7 separate regions of the Homo sapiens genome follow, and all the other regions are linked to region 1. Evidence: promoter capture Hi-C in 16 types of primary human blood cells and fetal thymus (Javierre and others, 2016). All regions are on one chromosome and are shown on one strand. The core of a region is centred on a gene start or on the middle of the fragment in contact, and the rest is flanking DNA. Distances in the headings are between cores, read along the strand shown. Region 1 holds the start of VCPKMT (valosin containing protein lysine methyltransferase). Region 2 overlaps NEMF (nuclear export mediator factor). Region 3 overlaps MAP4K5 (mitogen-activated protein kinase kinase kinase kinase 5). Region 4 overlaps KLHDC2 (kelch domain containing 2). Region 5 overlaps KLHDC1 (kelch domain containing 1). Region 6 overlaps NEMF (nuclear export mediator factor). Region 7 overlaps NEMF (nuclear export mediator factor).

What was found. Contacts are between HindIII fragments. The CHiCAGO score rates a contact against its expected background, and 5 or more counts as called.
Region 2: a fragment that was not itself captured here is called in contact with the fragment with the promoter of VCPKMT in region 1 in 11 of 17 cell types (activated CD4 T cells, total CD8 T cells, naive CD4 T cells and 8 more); the score reaches 10.9 in activated CD4 T cells.
Region 3: a contact is called between a fragment that was not itself captured here and the fragment with the promoter of VCPKMT in region 1, in 1 of 17 cell types (M2 macrophages). The highest score is 5.1, in M2 macrophages.
Region 4: a contact is called between a fragment that was not itself captured here and the fragment with the promoter of VCPKMT in region 1, in 13 of 17 cell types (monocytes, naive CD4 T cells, total CD4 T cells and 10 more). The highest score is 12.3, in monocytes.
Region 5: a contact is called between a fragment that was not itself captured here and the fragment with the promoter of VCPKMT in region 1, in 1 of 17 cell types (naive CD8 T cells). The highest score is 5.0, in naive CD8 T cells.
Region 6: a fragment that was not itself captured here is called in contact with the fragment with the promoter of VCPKMT in region 1 in 14 of 17 cell types (naive CD8 T cells, total CD8 T cells, activated CD4 T cells and 11 more); the score reaches 18.5 in naive CD8 T cells.
Region 7: a fragment that was not itself captured here is called in contact with the fragment with the promoter of VCPKMT in region 1 in 1 of 17 cell types (total CD4 T cells); the score reaches 5.0 in total CD4 T cells.

Annotation. Positions count from the first base shown.
Region 1 is chr14:50,115,040-50,117,844 of GRCh38, forward strand. It overlaps VCPKMT (valosin containing protein lysine methyltransferase), which reads right to left and starts at 1,533. Exons shown (of 6, transcript NM_024558.3): 1 at 1,248-1,533; 2 at 1,030-1,140; 3 at 800-872. The coding sequence starts at 1,513. SOS2 (SOS Ras/Rho guanine nucleotide exchange factor 2) reads right to left here. Exons shown (of 23, transcript NM_006939.4): 23 at 2,091-2,805. RefSeq lists an enhancer at 1,470-1,529. The HindIII fragment of the contact is 15,614 bases long and covers 1-2,272 here.
Region 2 is chr14:49,809,694-49,812,815 of GRCh38, forward strand. All of the region lies in intron 18 of NEMF (nuclear export mediator factor), which reads right to left. Among named protein-coding and RNA genes, the nearest start is that of NEMF, 42 kb to the right of the region's middle. The HindIII fragment of the contact is 1,203 bases long and covers 869-2,071 here.
Region 3 is chr14:50,424,275-50,427,293 of GRCh38, forward strand. MAP4K5 (mitogen-activated protein kinase kinase kinase kinase 5) reads right to left here. Exons shown (of 33, transcript NM_006575.6): 31 at 1,633-1,703. Among named protein-coding and RNA genes, the nearest start is that of CDKL1, 29 kb to the left of the region's middle. The HindIII fragment of the contact is 287 bases long and covers 1,360-1,646 here.
Region 4 is chr14:49,772,700-49,775,449 of GRCh38, forward strand. It overlaps KLHDC2 (kelch domain containing 2), which reads left to right. Exons shown (of 13, transcript NM_014315.3): 3 at 1,862-1,979. Among named protein-coding and RNA genes, the nearest start is that of KLHDC2, 5.9 kb to the left of the region's middle. The HindIII fragment of the contact is 4,163 bases long and covers 1-2,750 here.
Region 5 is chr14:49,752,239-49,755,450 of GRCh38, forward strand. It overlaps KLHDC1 (kelch domain containing 1), which reads left to right. Exons shown (of 13, transcript NM_172193.3): 13 at 1-912. Among named protein-coding and RNA genes, the nearest start is that of KLHDC2, 14 kb to the right of the region's middle. The HindIII fragment of the contact is 1,983 bases long and covers 798-2,780 here.
Region 6 is chr14:49,827,024-49,829,823 of GRCh38, forward strand. It overlaps NEMF (nuclear export mediator factor), which reads right to left. Exons shown (of 33, transcript NM_004713.6): 12 at 2,326-2,403; 13 at 2,031-2,239; 14 at 1,593-1,784; 15 at 1,268-1,331. Among named protein-coding and RNA genes, the nearest start is that of NEMF, 24 kb to the right of the region's middle. The HindIII fragment of the contact is 5,222 bases long and covers 1-2,800 here.
Region 7 is chr14:49,791,333-49,794,159 of GRCh38, forward strand. All of the region lies in intron 26 of NEMF (nuclear export mediator factor), which reads right to left. Among named protein-coding and RNA genes, the nearest start is that of KLHDC2, 25 kb to the left of the region's middle. The HindIII fragment of the contact is 8,583 bases long and covers 1-2,827 here.

The sequences.
Region 1 (2,805 bases), core at 283-2,782:
TTAAATAATCAACGATTTCCCTACAAAAGTTAAATCTGACCCTAACTTGGTTCAATGCTAATTATTTTTAAAATAATCGATGCCCACAACACTATACAAACTGATGTTTTTTTTTTTTTTTTTTTTTTTTGAGACAGAGTTTTGCTCTTGTTGCCCAGGCTGGAATGCAATGGCATGATTTCGGCTCACTGCAACCTCCGCCTCCCAGGTTCAAGCGATTCTCCTGCCTCAGACTCCCAAATAGCTAGGATTACAGACATGCACCACCACGCCTGGCTAATTTTGTATTTTTAGTAGAGACAGGGTTTTGCCATGTAGGTCAGGCTGGTCTCGAACTCCCGACCTCAGGTGAGCCACCTGCCTTGACCTCCCAAGTGTTGGGATTACAGGCGTGAGCCACCGCGCCCGGCCCAAACTGGTATTTAAAGAAAAGAACAATGAATTATTTATAACTTAATTCTCAATGTCATGGTTAACATGTTCCGTGGGAACAACCAAGGGAAAAAGAGAGGATTTTGGCTTTTCATAACATCCAATTGGCAAAATCCTTTAAAATTTTTACAGAAGCCTCTAGTAAAATGCATATAACACTTTTCTCAACATGCTTCACCAGGTCGGTATGATAATGATGAGCGTATATACATATGGTCCCTGGTGACTTTTATCTTCTCTTTACTGCATCAACTATAAGGCAAATCCCGGATTCAAAGATGTTAAAATGTGAAGAAACGTGTGCTTTAGAATTCATGGAATAAGGTTCATCTTCTAAGTGAAGAGACTTCGCTCACTGGATACTTACCTCTTCATAGTATATGCAGTCGGCCATCAGTATGAAGTCGGGTGGAGAAGGAAAGCCTTCTATTTCTTCCCCCCTTAAAAATGCCAAACAAATATTTCAATTGTTTTAATAATTCAAAATACTCTTGTTTTATAAAGAACCGGAAAGTCCCCTTCCATCCTTTTAATGAAACGCAATTCAAAACAAACTACAAATCAATATCTTAAAACAAGCTGAAAGGCCATACAAACCATTTCAGTACCTTGGCTTGAACAGAACCAGTGACAAGATGCTTGTTCATATTAATATTCATCTTCAGCAAGTCTTGCAATTCCTCAAGATCGGTGACTACAACATCAGCCCTATAAAATAACGTCGACTGAGGTGTAGGCACAGGGGGGAAAGCCTGTAATCCGGATTTCCCCAGCAAGAAGGCGCCCCCACATCCCGCCCGCCCGCCAGCTCTTACCCGAGGGTAGCAGCCATGAGCCCCACGGCCCCGGTGCCCGAACCCAGCTCCAGCACCGACCGCCGGCTCAGCGCGTGGGCCCCGTCGCCAGAAAACTCGGGCGTTTCCAGGTATTTAGAAAGGACAATGGCAGCGTCCCACACAACGCAACCCACGCCACCGGAGCTATACTGCTGTAGTCGTAGCACTGTACCATCCCGCTTCTCCAAAACTCGCACAAAGCTCCGCAGTGGGTCCTCCAGCGAGGACTCCAGCGTATCCGCCATTGCGCCCGGCAACAGAAAGCGGCGCGCGCAGGGACGTCACATCAACGCGCACCGCCCCGCCCTGCGGCTCCGCCCCCTGCCCGCCGCTGAGTTGGCGACGCAGCGCGCGCGAGTTAACAAAGCCCGGAAGGCAGCGTTACCTGGGCGGGGCCGAGCGTGGGGCCCCTGCTTACCCGACGCGCTTGGCAGCCTCCCTCTACCCTAAATCACACGTTTGGCTTAACGAAGAGGCCGTTTAAATCACTTTCCCAGACAAAACTATTATAATCTGCTCTTTAAAAAACAAAGCCAACCTCAGAGTTTACCAAGTTGGACACTTGATTTACATAGTAGTTACAAGGCTTAAATGCAATCAGCTTCCAAGATCCTACCAAAGATGGCTATAATCTTACAATCTTCCTTTTCAAGTTCCTAGTATGCTCCTAGTTTTTTGTATGAATTCATAAAAGTGGTTGCTAGAAGCCTGCAGCTCACATTTAACAGTGAAGAAAAAATTGTGTGTGTGTGTGTGTGTGTCTATAGGACTCAACAATCTCCCCCTTTGTTCCTTATAATGAAAACACATATTTTAAAAGTCTTTTAAAAATTAAGACTGGGGTGATTTATTAATCTTGTTAAGAACTCTGATACAAAGCACAGTAAAAGGCCACAAACCAGTAAATAAACAACGTGGCTTTTGGCTACTTTACAACTGCTGCTACAGCACTATCAGCAAAACACTCTATCACTTTGAACGAAGGCATCCAAATGGCAAATAAAAGCTTTACTCACTTATCTGATTAAAATGTTTAATAAAGCTTTAAGTATTTGCTGGTTTAAATATTACCAATCTAAAAAATATATTTAAAAAAAATTTCAGTTAACACGAGATTTATAGAGAAAGTTACTAGGTCTTGAAGGCAAGGCAGTTGGTTCCTATGCCATAGAATTTTTTTTGAATTTATGAATTAGTAAAGTAGCAGATTGTATTATAGGCCTCAAGTCACTTAAATTTATATAGGTTATTAGCAGTATCTTTAAATATACAATATAAACAAAACTGTACATACATGGCATATTAACTGTTTTCCATAACAATAGGCAATTCATTAGCTAAAGACGTCATAGTCTGCAAAAACAAAAGGCACATCTGAATGAGATACATGCCCTTTTTCCCTCCATCATTGGGTTATGTAGTCTTTGTTTACATTTTGACAAAATAATAAACACTTACAGTGCCATTCTATTATTTTCATCCTACTTTTCATTTTTGTCTTCAGCAGCAAATACCGGCATTTAAGACATGGCATTAA
Region 2 (3,122 bases), core at 220-2,719, 310 kb before region 1:
TTCTAAAAATACAAAAACTAGCTGGGTGTGGTGGCACGTGCCTGTTAATTCCAGCTACTCTGGAGGCTGAGGCAGGAGAATCGCTTGAACCTGGGAGGCAGACGTTGCAGTAAGCTGAGATTACGCAACTGCACTCCAGGCTGGGCAACAGAGCGAGACTCTGTCTCAAAAAAAGAGAGTGAACTCTAATGCAAACTATGGACTCTGGGCCATAATGATGTGTCAATGTAGGTTCATTAGTTGTAACAAATGTACCGTTCTGGTGGGGGATATCGATAATAGGGGAGGCTACGCATGCATGCAGCAGGGGGTATGAGGGAAATCACTATACATTCTGCTCAATTTTGTTGTGAACCTAAAACTGGTCGAAAAAAATGTCTATTTAAAAAAAGAGGCCGGGTGCGGTGGCTCGTGCCTGTAATCCCAGCACTTTGGGAGGCTGAGGCGGGCGGATCACAAGGTCAAGAGATCAAGACCATCCTGGCTAACACGGTGAAAACTCGTCTCTACTAAAAATACAAAAAATTAGCCGGGCGTGGTGGAGGGCGCCTGTAGTCCCAGCTACTCGGGAGGCTGAGGCAGGAGAATGGTGTGAACCCAGGAGGCAGAGCTTGCATGAGCCGAGATCACACCACTGCACTCCAGCCTGGGTGACAGTGCAAGACTCCATCTCAAAAAACCAAAAACAAAAAATTAAAAAAAGAAAAAAAGAAAGAGGAAATTCTATCCCCATTGGTCTTGGCACCCCTGCTGAAAATTAACTGACCATAAACTACAGGTTTATTTCTGGAATCTCGATTCTATCCCTTGATCTATTTGTCCATCCTCATGCCAGTACCAGTGTCCTGATTACTGTTACTCTGTAGAAAGCTTTAAAATCAGGAAACATGAGTCCTTCAAAATTTGCTCTTCATTTTCAATACTGCTTTCGCTAATCTGAGTCTCCTTGCATTACCACATGAATTTTAGAATCAGCTTCTCCATCTCTGAAAAAATAAAATAAAATAAAATGCAGGGCCAGGGGCAGTGGCTCATGCCTGTAATCCCAGTACTTTAGGAGGTCAAAGTGGATGGACTGCTCGAGCTCAGGAGCTCGACACTAGTCTGGACAACATGGCAAAACCTCATCTCTACAAAAAACACAAAAATAAGTTGGGCACAGTGGCAAATGTCTATGGTCCCAACTACTCAGGAGGTTGAGATGGGAGGATCGCTTCAGCCTGAAAGTTCAAGGCTGCAGTGAGCCAATCGCACCACTTTATTACAGCCTGGGTGACAGGAGACCCTGTTTCAAAACAAAACAAAAAAAGCAGCTGCAATTTTGAGAGGGATTACAGTGAATTCCTAGATTACTGGGGAGTACTGCTATCAGAACAATATTAAGACTTCCAATACATATACATGGGATGTCCAATTTAGGTCTTTAATTCCTTAAAATAATTTTATAGTTTGTTATCTATAAGCGTTGTAAGTCTTTTGGTAAATTGATTCCTAAGTATTTTATTCTTTTTAATGCTAATTATAAATTGAATTGTTTTATTAATTTCCTTTTCAGATTGTTCACTGGTAGTGTACAGAAATACAACTGATTTTTGTTTACTGATCTCATATCCTGGACATTGCTGAACTTGTTTATTAGCTCTGATAATTACTGGTAGATTCTTTAGGTTTTTTAAATGTGTGTGACCATATCAACTGTAAACATAGGTAGCTTTACTTTTGCCTAATTTGGATTTTTTTTTCTTTTTATTGCCTAATGACCTATATAGAACCACCAGTATAATGTTAAATAGAAATGGCAAGAACAGACATATTTGTCTTATTACTGATGGGAGGAGGAAGGTACCCAATCTTTCAGCATTAAGTATGATTGTTAGCTGTCGGTTTTTCATAAATGCTTGTTTACCAAGTTGAGGAATATCCCTTCTATTCCTAGTTTGCTGAGTGTTTTTATCACAAACAAATGTTGAATTTTGTCAAATGGTTTTTCTTCATAAGTTGAGATAATCCATGTGTGTTTTTTGTCCTTTATTAGTAGATTATATTACATTAATTTCCATATACTGAACCAAGCTTTCATTCCTGAGATAAATTACGCTTTGTCATCGTATATAGTCATTTTAATATGCTGCTAGATTCAGTTTGCTAATATTTTGTCAAAGATTTTTGTCTATATTTATAACCGGTATTGGTCTGTAGTTTTCTTGTGTTATCTTTGGTTTTGTAATACTGGCCTTGTAGAATGGGTTAGGAAGTGTTCCCACTGATCCTATTTTTTGGAAGAGTTTGTGAAGAACTGGCATTCAACCTTCTTTATAATTCACCAGTGAAGCCATCTGGCCTAGGGTTTTCTTTGATGAGTATTTTTTTAATGTTTTTCTTTATTATTAATCCAATCTCTGTACTTACAGGTTTATTTCAATTCTCTATTTCTTCTTGAGTCAGTTTTAGTATTTATATCTTTCTAGGAATTTGTCCATTTCATCTAGGTTACATAATCTGTTGGTATATAATTGTTCATGGTATTCCCTTATAATCCTTTCAATATCTGTAAAGTCGGAAGTAATGTTCCCTATTTCATTCCTGATTTTAGGGATTTGAGTCCTCTATTTTCTTGGTCAGTCTAGCCAAGGGTTTATCAATTTTGTTTATCTTTTCAAAGAACCAACTTGGGTTTTGTTCATTTTCTCTATTTTTTTCCTATTCTCTGTTTTGTTCATTTCTACTCTAATATTTACTATTTTCTTCCTTCTCCTTGCTTTGGGTTGTTTTTCTAGTTCTTAAGGTGCAAAGTTAGGTTACTGATTTGAGATCTTTCTTCTTTTTAAATATAGGCATTTATAGCTATAAATTACCCCCTAAGGGCTGCTCTTCTTGCATCTCATAAGTTTTGACACACTGTATTTTCATTTCGTTCATCTCAAAGTGTTTTGTGGCATCTTTTGTGATTTCCTCTTTGTTCCATTGCTTATTTATAACTGTGGTATTTAATTTCCACATACTTACGAATTTAAAACATTTTCTCTACTCCTGGTTTCTAATTTCACCCCATTATAGTCAGAAAACTTACTTTGTCTAATTTCAACAGTTTTAAATGTATTGAGGCTTTTTTTTTTTGAGAT
Region 3 (3,019 bases), core at 253-2,752, 310 kb after region 1:
GATTTTTCAGAGTATTAAGTTCAGAGATGTTCTAATCATTGTGCCTGGAATGACTGAGTATTACTTTATGAAAGAGGTCAAGACTTTAGCTAGGCCCAAGTTGAAGGATGAGAACATAAACTGAAAAAAAGGTAATCAAGACGAATTAAAAATAGGCCGGGTGTGGGGCTCACATCTGTAATCCCGGCACTTTGGGAGGCCAAGGCAGGTGGATCACGTGAGGTCAGAAGTTCGAGACCAGCCTGGCCAACACGGTGAAATCCCATCTCTACTAAAAATACAAAAATTAGCTGGGTGTGTTGGTGCATGCCTGTAATCCCAGCTACTCAGGAGGCCGAGGCAGGAGAATCGCTTGAACCCAGGAGGTGGAGGTTGCAGTGAGCTGAGATTGTGCCGCTGCACTCCAGCCTGGGCGACAGTGTGAGACTCCATCTCAAAAAAAAAAAAAAAAAAAGAGTTAAAAATAGATATTTCGGAAATGGAATCAATATTTGATACAGTAAGAAACAAGGACCTTCTGTAGATTTCTAACCATAGGAGTGACATAATGAAAATAGCATTTAAGAATAATTAACCATATGATAATAAGTAGGACTGTAGGTTTCATCAAGTGCAGGGACTTGGTGACATTTAGTGACACGTATCAGTAACTAGATAAACTTATATATTCAAAGACAGCTGATTTATGTCATTTCCTCCTGGAAGCATTCTAATTCTGCATTCATATAAGAGGTAGGAATATTCATTTATATATAAGTAAGAGTGTGGATAAAACTAAAGGTAAATGCAAACAGAAGAAGTTTTTGAGCTTTAAGTAAGTTCACAAACTTGTTAGGCCATAGTTAGAAGAATCACACAAGTATTCACGTAAATGTGAAATGTCTCTGTTAGTATTATCTTAGCTAGTAGGACTCATTCCTCAAATTGGAGGCCCAAATCCCATCTCCTGCATGAGACGTAATTATCTCAGCTAGAAGTGATTTAAAGAGACCCTTCAAATCCAGACTCTTCCACTTCACTAGTTATGTAACTCTGGGCAAGTTACTTAACCACTCTGTAGCTGTAAAAATGGCAATATGAATAGTATCTACTTCTACTGGATTATTTTGAGCCTGAAATAAGCAAATATTTGTAAAGTGCCTGGAACACAGTAGGTATTATTTAAAGTTTGATATTATTTACAATAATAGTGTCTTGAACATAGTTGGTACTCAATAGTTACTAAATGAGTCAATTTTCTTAGATTCCCTTATTCTTATGCTCCATTATGTATTAATTTAGATTTTAAAATATATTTAAAAAGAAGCCAGATATTTATAGATTATGGAAAACACTTAATAAATTTAGAAAAGTTTTACAAGCTTAGCAACCATATTTACAAATTACAAATTAGATAAATGAAATTGCATGAACTTATATTTTGCAATTCCTGGTGGCCACTGAGAATTTTGAACTATGATACAGAAGTGAACATAGTTGAAGGGAAAATACTGGCTTTTTTGTTCTACCAGTTCATAGTATTAAAAGCACTAAACACAGTAATGTAGGTTCAGAGAGGAAATGCATAAAACGAGTGCTTCGACATTTAAAATTGTTAGTGGGAGTCAGTGGAGGTAATCTGAGAAGGCTTACCTCATCTGACTTGAAGCTTTTACCCTGCATCCCATGTTTCCAGAAAGCCAACACACTGTCTTGAAGGCATACTAAAAATGATAAGGGAGAAGTGAAACTAATATAAAGCACAGAGCATTTCACTATAAATTTTCTCTACTTTTAATAAATAATATAAGCCTATTCAAGTGTCTAGTGCAAAATTCCACTGTCTAGACCACGATTTCTCAACATTTTTGTGGCTAAGACATGCCTAAGTTCAAGTAATTTACTGAGGTAGGGTTATGCAAGTCTTCAAAGATACATATAAAAGCCATTCATTTAAACATGAACTAACTTCTGATAAGGTGGATGTTGGCATATTCATTTCTTTCATACAAAAGATACAGTGTATCTTTTGTCTTAAATGAATAAAATCATAAAAACATATATAACTGGGTTTTTGCATTAAAAGCATTGTTGTTTAAATACTGTTACATATTCAGAAGTAGCTTTAAACAAGCATTTTTTATGTTCATATTTTCCCTGTAACAAAAGAAATTTTAAAAAATAAACCTGGCCGGGCGCAGTGGCTCATCCCTGTAACCTCAGCACTTTGGGAGGCCGAGGTGGGTGGATCACCTGAGGTCAGGAGATGGAGACCAGCCTGACCAGTATGGTGAAACCCTGTCTCTACAAAAATACAAAAATTAGCCAGGTGTGGTGGCCTGTGCCTGTAGCCCCAGCTACTCAGGACGCTGAAACGGGAGAATTGCTTGAACCCCACAGGTGGAGGCTGCAGTGAGCCGAGATCACGTCACTTCACTCCAGCTTGGGCGACAGAGCGAGACTCCGTCTCAAACAAAATAAATAAATAAAAAATAAAATAAAATAAACCTGCCCCACAATCCAACATTTAACCACACATTGAATATTTAGGATCTGTGAGTCAATTCTTACATAAAATTCTTAGTATTTAACCATTACAAGTAAGTATTAGAGTTAGAAAAGCATAATTAAAAGTGATGGAGGAAAGTAACTGAAAATTAACTGTTTTATTAGACTATTAACTTTTTGTAAAAAGTTAATGTAAGAATGTTCTGGGAACATAATTAAGCTCAATAAAAATAAAAGTATTTGACAATGACAAATCACATGTGTTTCACTAACTGTGACAAATAAAAAACCTAGTTACTGATTTTATTTTTAAGAGGTGTTGTAAAGGCATTTTTTTTTCCCCAGGAGGATTCCTGTAATTATTCCAAGGTTTACTGGCAAGAAAAGATGGTAGCCTAGGAGGAACAAACTTTTGTGTAACAATTAAAATTACGAAGATAATTTGGCACATCTGAAAAAGTTGAGGTATCAGTGTGTTTCAATGAAAGTGAAGAGGAATTAAGGATTCCTATGTCAGAATCTCTCTCAAAAA
Region 4 (2,750 bases), core at 228-2,727, 340 kb before region 1:
TAATCCCAGCACTTTGGGAGGCCGAGGCAGGCAGCTCACCTTAGGTGAGGAGTTCAAGACCAGCCTGGCCAACATGGTGAAACCCCATCTCTACAAAAATACAAAAATTAGCCAGGCATGATGGCAGGTGCCTATAATCCCAGCTACTAGGGAGGCTGAGGCAGGAGAATCACCTGAACCCGGGAGGCAGAGGTTGCAGTGAACTGAGATCATGCCATTGCACTCCAGCCTGGGTAATACAGTGAGACTCCCTCTCAAAAAACAAAAACATTTAACAGTTACAAACTAAAAATAAGTCATGATTATTTCTGTATATAACAAATTGGTGTTAATATGAAGCTGTTTCTTAATCTTTTTCTAGAGAATTGGAAATTTATAATTGTATTCTCTTAAAAGCAGAATGCTACATATTTTTAAAGATAATTTTTAAGGGGCCGGGCACGGTGGCTCACACCTGTAATCCCAGCACTTTGGGAAGCCGAGGCAGGTGGATCATGAGGTCAGGAGATCCAGACCATCCTGGCTAACATGGTGAAACCCTGTCTCTACTAAAAAATACAAAAAATTAGCCGGGCGTGGAGGCACGCGCCTGTAGTCCCAGCTACTCGGGAGGCTGAGGCAGAAGAATGGCGTGAACCCGGAAGGCAGAGCTTGCAGTGAGCAGAGATCGCGCCACTGCACTCCAGCCTGGGCGAAAGAGTCAGACTCCATCTCAAAAAAAAAAAAAAAAAAATTTAAGGCCAGGTATGGTGGCTCACACCTGTAATCCTAGCACTTTGGGAGGCCGAGGTGGGAGGATCACTTGAGCCCAGGAGTTCAAGACCAGCCTGAGCAATACAGTGAGACCCTGTTTCTATTTAAAAATAATAACTTTTTTTTTTTTTTTTTTTTTAATGAGAGGGAGTCTCACTCTGTCGCCCAGGCTGGAGTGCAGTGGCGCAATCTCGACTCGCTGCAAGCTCCGCCTCCTGGCTTCACACCATTCTGTTGCCTCAGCCCCCTGAGTAGCTGGGACTACAGGCGCCCGCCACCACGCCTGGCTAATTTTTTGTATTTTTAGTAGAGATAGGGTTTCACCATGTTAAACAGTATGGTCTCGATTTCTTGACCTTGTGATCCACCTGCCTCAGCCTCCCAAAGTGCTGGGATTACAGGCATGAGCCACCGCGCCCAGCCAAAAATAGTAACTTTTAAAAAAATGAGCCTTCTAAAACTTTTAAGTTTAGCAAAGATAAATATTATTATATCTGACAGTTTTAGCAGAAGACCTTGAGTATACTATTAGAATTTTAAATCTTAGATTCCTTAGGTTGATTCAGATCAATTTTTAGATTCAGAATGAGTTAATACATACAAAGCACTCAGGAATGCCTGGCACATGGCACTACCTGTTTGTAGTGTTACATAAAGGACTGAATCTGATGCATATGAACAGCTAAAAGGGGACTGAAGAAAAAACACTGAATTAATCTATCAGCACTGGGAATGTTGAGGTTTTCCTTCTGGGCTCCTGGCCCACTCAAAAGCAAAACAACTTATGGCCATGTAAATAAATAGCAAACAATTTAGTCTGAGAAACATAAAATGGTATGCTCCTAGAATAATAAAATATGACTTAGGCTTTCAGAATCTCTCATGCCTGTACACATGGGGCCAGCTGGCACTGTTTGTGGAATGGGTAAAGAGGGAAAAGCACATTCCTTGAATTAAGGTTAGACCTAGGAGAGATCCTAGCGGCACTGTCTACTCTGCCTTCTCATTTTATTCCTTTATTGTGAGGATATAAGTAGAAGAAGAAAAATTAATAGACTTTTGCATTTCTTCCCTTTAACTTACATACATTTAATTTATTCCCCCTCAGGAAAAAAATCAACACTGAAGGTGATGTTCCTCCTTCTATGTCAGGAAGCTGTGCTGTGTGTGTAGACAGGGTGCTGTACTTGTTTGGAGGACACCATTCAAGAGGCAATACCAATAAGGTTAGTGTTTCTAAGGATTATGGCTTGAGGCATTTTTATTCTTATTATCTTTCAAACAACTGCAAATTTCTAAGGTTAGCCCCAGACTTATTTGTGTCACAGTTAAAAATGATGTGTACTTGATTATGATATGAATGTGCATTTTAGTATTTTGTGTGCCAATCTGTATTTACCTAGGCATTATGTAAAATCAACTTTTGTTGGTAACCTGTGTGCAGTAACTTCCTGGGTGGTTTTTCTTTGTGCTTTTTGCAGCTACTTGTTCTCTTAGAACCTTAAATGTTAGATGAACATTAGTAATAAAATTGCAGACAAAATGAAGACAAGATGTAATGGAGGGAAGGGTAAAAATGAGCAGGCAACCAGTCAGAAAGCTGTAAGGATAAATTAAAACTGACAAAACTTTACATGTTAACATTCCTATAAAGTGGTGCCCAAAGACAATGCTGTTCAGACTTTGCCGTATTTTGTTCCAAGTAGGAAAAAATATATCACTTCTTCTCTTTCAGACCAATAAGAGACAGATTAAGTCAATCAGAAATGATACATATGACATATATTAGCGCTTACTGAGTTGCCAAATAAATGAATCCATAGGAGTCTATTAAGTTGGCAACTTAGTAAGCACTTTATGTGCTGAGCACTTGGCTGGACACTGGAGACAGAAAGAATGATATAGTTCTCACCTCCTGGAACTCACATTCTAGAAGGGACACATATAGTAAGTAAACCACTGCAGTAGCACCTGCTAGAGAGATACACAGCACCTGG
Region 5 (3,212 bases), core at 539-3,038, 360 kb before region 1:
GGGTCAAATATTATAAAATAGGCAAACACCAAAATGGTATTAAATATTGAACTCCTGACCTTTTCGACACTTACCTAGTAAAGTATTCTTAGGCATCATCATAACTTTTCCTCACCTTTATTCGAATAGAGGAATAAATGTCTTCAGTTGTCTCTCCATTACCCCTAAGTTATTAGTTTGTCTAGTTTATATATAAAGACCATGTTTTAAAGTACATAAAGTGGAGGTTTATTTATCATACAGGCTTTGAAACATTAAGAAGCAGTATTTTTATTAACTTTTTGAGACATATTAAAATACATTTTGCCTTAGAAGACTGCTTCTAAAGTAATTTTTGTAAGTAATGAGATGGGATGGTAATCTAGTAATTTGACTTTATAGAAATCCCTCAGTTTGGCCCCCACCATTCTACAGAGTTGTACTCAAGACAGATACTGAAAAAATCTAATACCTTCCCTTGTATTTTCAGCATTACCATCTATACAGAAATGGAACACTGTATCTTTATATTCCTAAAAATGGTACTTTTGGCATAATTAAGAAATTTTTCTTCATATTATCACAATCATGCCCTTCCATTGAATTATTAATTACAATTAATTACTAAAAAGCTTGGTATGTAAAATTATTCTCCACAATATTACCATGCAAGTTATCTCTGAAATTTAAAATGTTAAAGAAAAACATTTCTATATTGAAATATATATAATTTATAATGAAAATTATAGTAGTTTGTAGTATTTCATTGAATTTTAGAGAGATATTTCATATATATGTACTGTATTTTGGATGTGTAAAGCTTCTATGTATTGAAATATTTTTTTACGTTTTATTTATTGTACAAAGTGTATATAATTACTGTTTTCTTTTTTGTCAGTGTAAAGCAGTCATTAGAATTGATTATACAAAAAATATTTCATTGTCAGTTTTCATTTTTCTATTTTTAGGCTGAATAACAGATTTAGAAAATGAATCTCACAAATAATTCACATCTTGGAAATAATTACCTTATTATGCTGTGGTGCTGATGAATTTAGCATCAGCCTTTTATATTTAAGGCAAAAATATATCAAAACCTAATTAGACACTGATAGATGACATTGAGCAGAAGGAACACCGTTTTAAAATGGCTTCTGGATTATGTGAATGCCTTGTCCCGCCTCTTAGAAGAGCACCTCTATTTTTAAATGATGTATTTGGAACATTAAAAGTTGGATTAGCCCCCTTAAAATACACACTCTCATGGGCTTTAAGAGAATGAAAATCTGGTCAGGTGCAGTGGCTAACGTCTATAATCCCAGCACTTTGGGAGGCTGAGGCAGGAGGCTTGCTTGAGGCCAGGAATTCAAGACCAGCCTGGGCAACATGAAGAGACCCTATCTGTTAAAAAAAAAAAAATCTCAGAATATTCTTACCATTGCCAGAAAGGATTCTTTTAAGGTTATTGTTATTTTTAATGTGATAAATAACACATCAAAATTAGTGTACCTTTTTTCCAAATAGTATTTTTGCAAAAGCACCTGTAAAAATACTTTTTAGAGGCCAGGCATGGTGGCTCATGTCTGTAATTCCAGCACTTTGGGGGGCTGTGGTGGACAGATCACTTGAGGCCAGGAGTTCGAGACCAGCCTGGCCAACATGGTGAAACCCTTTCTCTACCAAAAATTAAAAAATTAGCTGGGTGTGGTGGCATGCACCTATAGTCCCAGCTACTCGGGAGGCTGAGGCAGGAGAATCACTTGAATGTGGGAGGCAGAGGTTGCAGTGAGCCAAGATTGAACCACTGCATTCCAGCCTGGGCAACAGAGTGAGACTCCGTCCAAAAAAAAAAATATATATATATATATATATACACACACATACTTTGGAACTTTGTACTGTCAGCTGACACAGTGATGTTTTCACCAATGTGGGTTTTTTTTGTTTTTTTGGGTTTTTTATTTTGAGACAGAGTCTCTGTCGCCCAGGCTGGAATGCAGTGGTGCGATCTCAGCTCACTGCAACCTCTGCGTCCCAGGTTCACGTAATTCCTGTGCCTCACCCACCTGAGTAGCTGGGATTACAGGTGCATGCCACCACGCCCAGCATTAATTTTTGTATTTTTAGTAGAGACGGGGTTTTGTCATGTTGGCCAGGCTGGTCTCGAACTCCTAACCTGAAGTGATCCGCCCACCTTGGCCTTCCAAAGTGCTAGGATTACAGGTGTGAGCCACCACGCCCGGCCACCAGTGTGTTATTTGTACATGTATTTGAGAGAAATAAAGTCACCATGATAGAATAATTGTCAGGGTAGTGCATACTATTGATGAATTAAAATTTAGATTTCAGAATTTCTGGGAGGAAAAGAAGCAATTTTAAGGAGCAGATGATCCCCCTACTCACGTTTTTTTGCCTCTCTTTCCATTGTATTAATTTAATTCTTTTGGAATTTCCAGTTTGATGAAGTTGCCATACAGTCCAGCATGTGGGCACAGCATGATTTTTTCAAATGATTCAATGTCTGTTGTTTACATTATGGCTCATTCTTGGTGTTGTATATTCTATGGGTTTTGACATGTATATAAGGACATGTATTCACCAGTGTAGTATCATACAAAATAGTTTCACTGCCCTAAAAAATCCTCTGTGCTCTGCCTGTTCATTCCTCCCTCTTCTCTAACCCCTGGAAACCACTGACATTTTTACTGTTTACATAGTTCTGTCTTTTCCAGAATGTCGTATAGTCATACTGGCTTCTTCACTTAGCAGTATGTATTTACGTTTCTTCCATTTCTCTTCGAAGCTTGATAGCTCATTTCTTTTTAGCGTTGAATAATATTCCATTGTCTGACATACCACAGTTTATCCATTCATCTACTGAAAAACATCTTGGTTGCTTCCAAGTTTTGGCAATTATGAATAAAGCTGCTATAAACATCTGTGTGCAAGGTTTTGTATAGACATAAGTTTTCAGTTCATTTGGATCAATACCAAGGATCAAGATTGTTGGATCATATGGTAAGAATATATTTAGTTTATTAAGAAACCACCAGACTACCTTCCAAAGTGGCTATACTCAATGAATGAGAGTTCCTGTTGCTTCACATCCTTGCCAGCATTTGGTGGTGTCAGTGTTTTGGGTTTCTTTGTTCTGCTAGATATGTAGTGGTTCATATTGTTTTAATTTGCAATTTCCTAATGACATATGATGTTGACATTTTTCATATGCTGAC
Region 6 (2,800 bases), core at 113-2,612, 290 kb before region 1:
GATCCCAGTGTAGCCAGAAAGAGTGTATGAGAGGAGGAATGCAGGTGTTGAGGTCAGAGGGGAGGAGATCTCCCGTCCTTCTTGCAGGATAGGAGAAGGGCTCTGAATTGTATTAAGATGGGAAGCAACTGGAAGAGAAAAAGGACTTCACTTTTGATTTATTTATTTTAATATATTTTTTGAGACGGAGTCTCGCTCTGTCTCCCAGGCTAGAGTGCAATGGCATGATCTCAGCTCACTGCAACCTCCACCTCCCGGGTTCATTAGATTCTCCCACCTCAGCCGCCCAAGTAGCTGGGATTACAGGTACCCGCCATCACCTCAGGCTAATTTTTGTATTTTCAGTAGATATGGGGTTTCACCATGTTGGCCAGGCTGGTCTCAAACTCCTGGCTTCAAGCGATCCACCGGCCTCGGCCTTCCAAAGTGCTGGAATTACAGGCGTCAACCACCACACCCAGTCTTCACTTTTGATTCAAAAGGATCACAACGGGGCTAGGCATGGTGGCTCACACCTGTAATCCCAGCACTTTGGGAGGCCGAAGGTCAAGGCCTGAAGCGGGCGGATCACCTGAGGTCAGCAGTTTGAGACCAAGCTGACCAACATGGTGAAACCCTGTCTCTACTAAAACTACAAAAATTAGCTGGGTGTGGTGGCGGGCGCCTGTAATCCCAGCTACTTAGGAGGCTGAGGTGGGAGAATCGCTTGAACCTGGGAGGCAGAAGTTGCAGTGAGCTGAGATCAAGCCATTGCACTCCAGCCTGAGCAATAAGAGTGAAACTCCATCGCAAAAAAAAAAAAGGGTCACAATGGCTGCTATGTGGAGAACAGACTGTAGTGGGAAAAGAGGAGGAGGAGAGAGATCCAATAAGAGGCTACTTGTCATAGTCCATGTGAACACAGAGGTGATAGGGGACTGATCAGTGGAAATAATGAGTAGTAGCCAGATTCTGGCTGTACTTTAAAGAAAGAACCAAAGGATTTACTGATGGATTGCATGATTTATGGGAAAAGAGTCCAGGATATCACAAACATTTTTAACCTGAGTGAACAGAAAAATGAAGGTGTTATTTACTGAGATGAGGAAGAATAGGGGAGGAGCAGTCCTGGGGGGAAAAAATACTGGAAATACATATATTTAAAGCAAAGTTAAGTTTGAAAGATACTTCTGAATTAGAAAACCTCATTTAAACAGAAGAAATAATTATGTCCATTAAATTACGCAGGCACAAACAACTAACATTCACTCTAAGAAATACTCAGTACCTTCTCAGCAGCTTCAACAGTCTTTTGTGTTTTCTTAGCAGCATATCTCTTGTGATCATAATACCTAGAAAAACATATTTCTCTTAAATTTTAAGTATAATATTTATTCTTCAGTTTTCTACTTAGTTCTAACTTGACAAATTCTCAAATTATACAGAACAAATCAGAACAAACTGTATAATTAACAAAACTAAATTTAAAAAAGTATTTTCACCCAAAAAAAGTATGCATGTACAAGTGAAATTTAAAATTTTTTAAAATGTCCTTAATTCCTTAATTTATTGCAGATAACACTTGGCCTAAAATGTAAAGTTAAATGACTTACTTTTTGGCATTGGCATATGCTGACAAGCTGAGATCAACATCTACAAGTAAGGGCTTATTTTTCTGAGGCTTCTGCAGCTGTTTATTCTTTTGTTTTTTCTTTTTTCCTTTTGGTGGTTCAGTTTCATTTTTCTCAACATTGACGTCACCATCAACATCATCATCTTCCTCCTCTGATAACAAGTATGGATTTCTATTAAAAATATTCAATAGCATTTCACTAACGTCAATGACATCACTTTTATTTTCAATTTTCTTCTTCAATAAAATTATAAATGGTTTACAGTACTGGAAGTTTCATTATTTATTTTAATCTAAATTAGTTTTTTCCCTTTCTTTGAGAATTTCAAAATATGAAGAAAAAATGTTTAATACAGTGAACAATTAAAATAACAAAATAAAGACAAGCATTAACTGCTTGACTAAGAGTCAAACTTACCTTAGCAGCATTGTAACATGGTTTGTTTGTAGTTTTAATTCTTTGATTGCACTTGCAACAGGGTCTCCTTGAGCCTGGGCTTCTTTCACAATTAACCCAATTTCTGTCCAATCTATCTGGTTAGCTAAAGCACTTCGAACTACCTGAATGGCTCTGTCAACTATTTGTAGGTTCATTTCTATGAGCTCTCCTTTCAGTTTGTCTATTTCCTTAAAAAACAAACCACACACATTTACTACATTGCCAGTTAAAGTTAACATTTTTGAAAAAGCACTGAGAAAGCCAAACATAATACCTGAGCCTGCTGAAGAGCTTCCAATCTGTTTTCGTGATCCTTTCGAACATTATCTAATTTCTTCAATGCTTGCTTTTCCTTTTATTGGCAAAACAGATTTTTTAAAAATTAGATTTCTCCTACCTCATGACATCCCTCTCTTACTTCCCAACACTCACTATCCTGACCCCATCTATGCTGTTATCTAGCTAGCTGAAGTTCCCATAGTCTACCACCCTAGGCCTATCCCACTACAATGCGTTCCATGCCCCAAAATTACTTCTCCTGTCTTCCTAACTCCCACTCCTTATATAGAAAGGTATTTTGATTACAGGTTACTGTGTATATAAGATATACCCCTAATACCCTTGGCATTATTCAAACAGGCAGAAATCAAGACATTTTTTCCTATGGCACAAAAGTAAAGTTTGGGAGAACGAATTCTTTATTTTTTTTTAAATAATAGAGACCGGGTCCCGCTATGTTGCCCAGGCTG
Region 7 (2,827 bases), core at 203-2,702, 320 kb before region 1:
ATCTCAGAAAAAAAGAAACTGGCAAGCAAGCATGAGCCTTCTGGGATGCTGGAAACATTCCAAGTAAAGTATCTGTATCTGAGTGGTGGTTTCACAGATGTGTGTGCTTATAAAAATTCACTGAGGCCAGGCATGGTGGCTCACGCCTGTAATCCCAGCACTTTGGGAGGCCGAGGCAGGCGGATCACAAGGTCAAGAGATCGAGACCATCCTGACCAACATGGTGAAACTCTGTCGCTACTAAAAATACAAAAAGTAGCTGGGCATAGTGGTGCACGCCTGTAGTCCCAGCTACTCAGAAGGCTGAGGCAGGAGAATTGCTTGAACCCAGGAGGCGGAGGTTGCAGTGAGCCGAGATCGCGCCACCGCACTCCAGCCTGGGCAACAGAGCGAGACTCCATTTAAAAAAAAAAAAAAAAAAAAAAAATTCACTGAGCCAAAGATTTGTGCATTTTACTACTATGTACACTGTACCTCAAAAAAAAATTGAGAAAGAATATTGTAACCAATAAACAGGACTGAGGAATGGAAAACCTGATGACAACAGAGTTTCTTAGAAAATACAACTTCGGAAAACCAACTTCAAAAAAAATCCCGGAAAACCTGAATAAACCTAAAATCATTAAAGAAATTGAAATTAGTTCTTACAAACCTCCTCAAAATAGCCAGGCATGGTGGCACACACCTGTGGTCTCAGCTACTAGGGAAGCTGAGATGGGAGGATTGCTTGAGCCCAGGAGGTCGAGGCTGCAGTGAGCCAAGATTGCAACACTACATCCCAGCCTGGGCAACAAAGTAAGACCCAGTCTAAAAAAAAAAAAAGTCTCCTCACAAAACCCAAAACATTAGGTCTAGTTTTATAAGCAAATGCTATCCAATTTCAAGGAACAATCTCCGTTTTTTGACAGAGTTCTTGCTCTGTCACCCAGGCTGGAGTGCAGTGCATGACCTTGGCTCATTGCAACCTCTGCCTCCCAGGCTCAAGCAATTATCCTGCCTCAGCCTCCAAGAAGCTGGGACCTACAGGTCCCACCACACCCGGCTAATTTTTGTATTTTTAATACAGATGGGGTTTCACCATGTTAGCCAGGCAGGTCTTGAACTCCTGACCTCAGGTGACCCAACTGCCTCAGCCTCCCAAAGTGCTGGGATTACAGGCATGAGCCACCGTGCCCAGCCACAATCTCCATTTTATACAAAGTTCTAGAGAGCAGAAAAAGAGGGAAAGGTCCTAAACTTATTTTATGAAACTGGTATAATGTAAACACAAAAAACAGGCAGAGACGGTATGAGAAATTAGAAGCCAATTAATATATTTTTCTCAACTAATATACCATACTGACTAACAGATAAAATAATACAATAGTCTGGGCATGGTGGCTTATGCCTGTTAATTTTAGCACTTTTGGATAACAAGCAGGAGGATAACTTGAGCCTAGGAGTTAGACCAGCCTGGGCAAATAGGAAGAGCCTGTCTCTAAAAATAATAAAAATAAAAATTAGCCAGACATGGTGGCACATGCCTGTGATCCCAGCTGTTTGGGAAGCTGAGGTATTAGGATGGTTTGGGCCCAGGAGATCGAGGCTGCAGTGAGCCATAACCACACCACTGCAGTCCAGCCTGGGCAACAGAGTGACACCCTGTCTCAAAAAAACAAACAAAAAGAATGCAATAGACACAGAAAAACCATTCAGTAACATTTAACTCATCGTTATTAAAAATAACTTTCAAAAAGGTGTCCTTCAACAACCCAAAGGAAACATCCCGCAATGATAAAATCTTAGAAACAGTTCCTGTAATGGAATTAACAAAGATATACACGATTACTACTTCTATGAAACATTATATTTTTGCTTTTCAGTCACTGCAAAAAAAAACATGGGGAAAATAAAAAGATATTAAGACTAGAAGAAAAGCCATAATTTGCAGACGATATGACTGCCTACAGATGAAGTATTAAAATTAGTAAGTGCTCTATAAGATTGCCCATTACTTGATCAACATGAAAGTTGTCTTCCCATGTACCAGCAAGTAACAGCTAGGAAATGAAAGTTTCAAAAATAGGTAGGGCGCAGTGGCTCAAGTCTGTAATCCCAACACTTTGGGAGGCTGAGGCGGGCAGATTGCTCAGTTATAGTTTTATAATTGCACAATTATAGTTTTCCACAGGAAGACTCAAAGTGGTAAAAATGACAATTCCCCAGAAAATAATCTAAAAGTTTAATGTATTTTAATAAACATTCTATCAGGATTTGCCTTGAAACTTAACCTATCTGCAGAATATTTCATTGTAAAAATGCATCATTTATTGTTATTTCACATTGTTGTACACTTAAGATTAATTGCAGTATTTTTTTGCTACTACAAATATAAACTTCAACGTCCTCGTTGCGTACCCATAATTTTTTTTAGGATAAATTCCTATAAGAGGAATTGCTGAGTCAAAGGGCAGAAGCACTGTTAAGACTTTTGACTGGAATTCCCATGTTGTACACTCAAACTGACAATGTAGTATCTATTAATTTGATGGGTAAAAAAAATTCCCCAGGTTTACACAGCATTTCTGTCATCACTTTTTTTTTTTTCCAGATTTGTCATTTGTTTTTTAATTTTACTGGTGGTTCTTTACTTTCTCCACCTGCAATTCACTGTGGTACCGTTTTCACATGGTTAGCCATCATTTTGAATATTTCATATCTTCTCAAATGATCTACAATATTATTTTATCACGTACTAAAATGCTAAATATCAGGTAGTGGTCCTCTGTCTAGATTTTATTCTGTCTCATTTTTTTCTGTCTAGCTATTCCTATGTTAATAACATGCT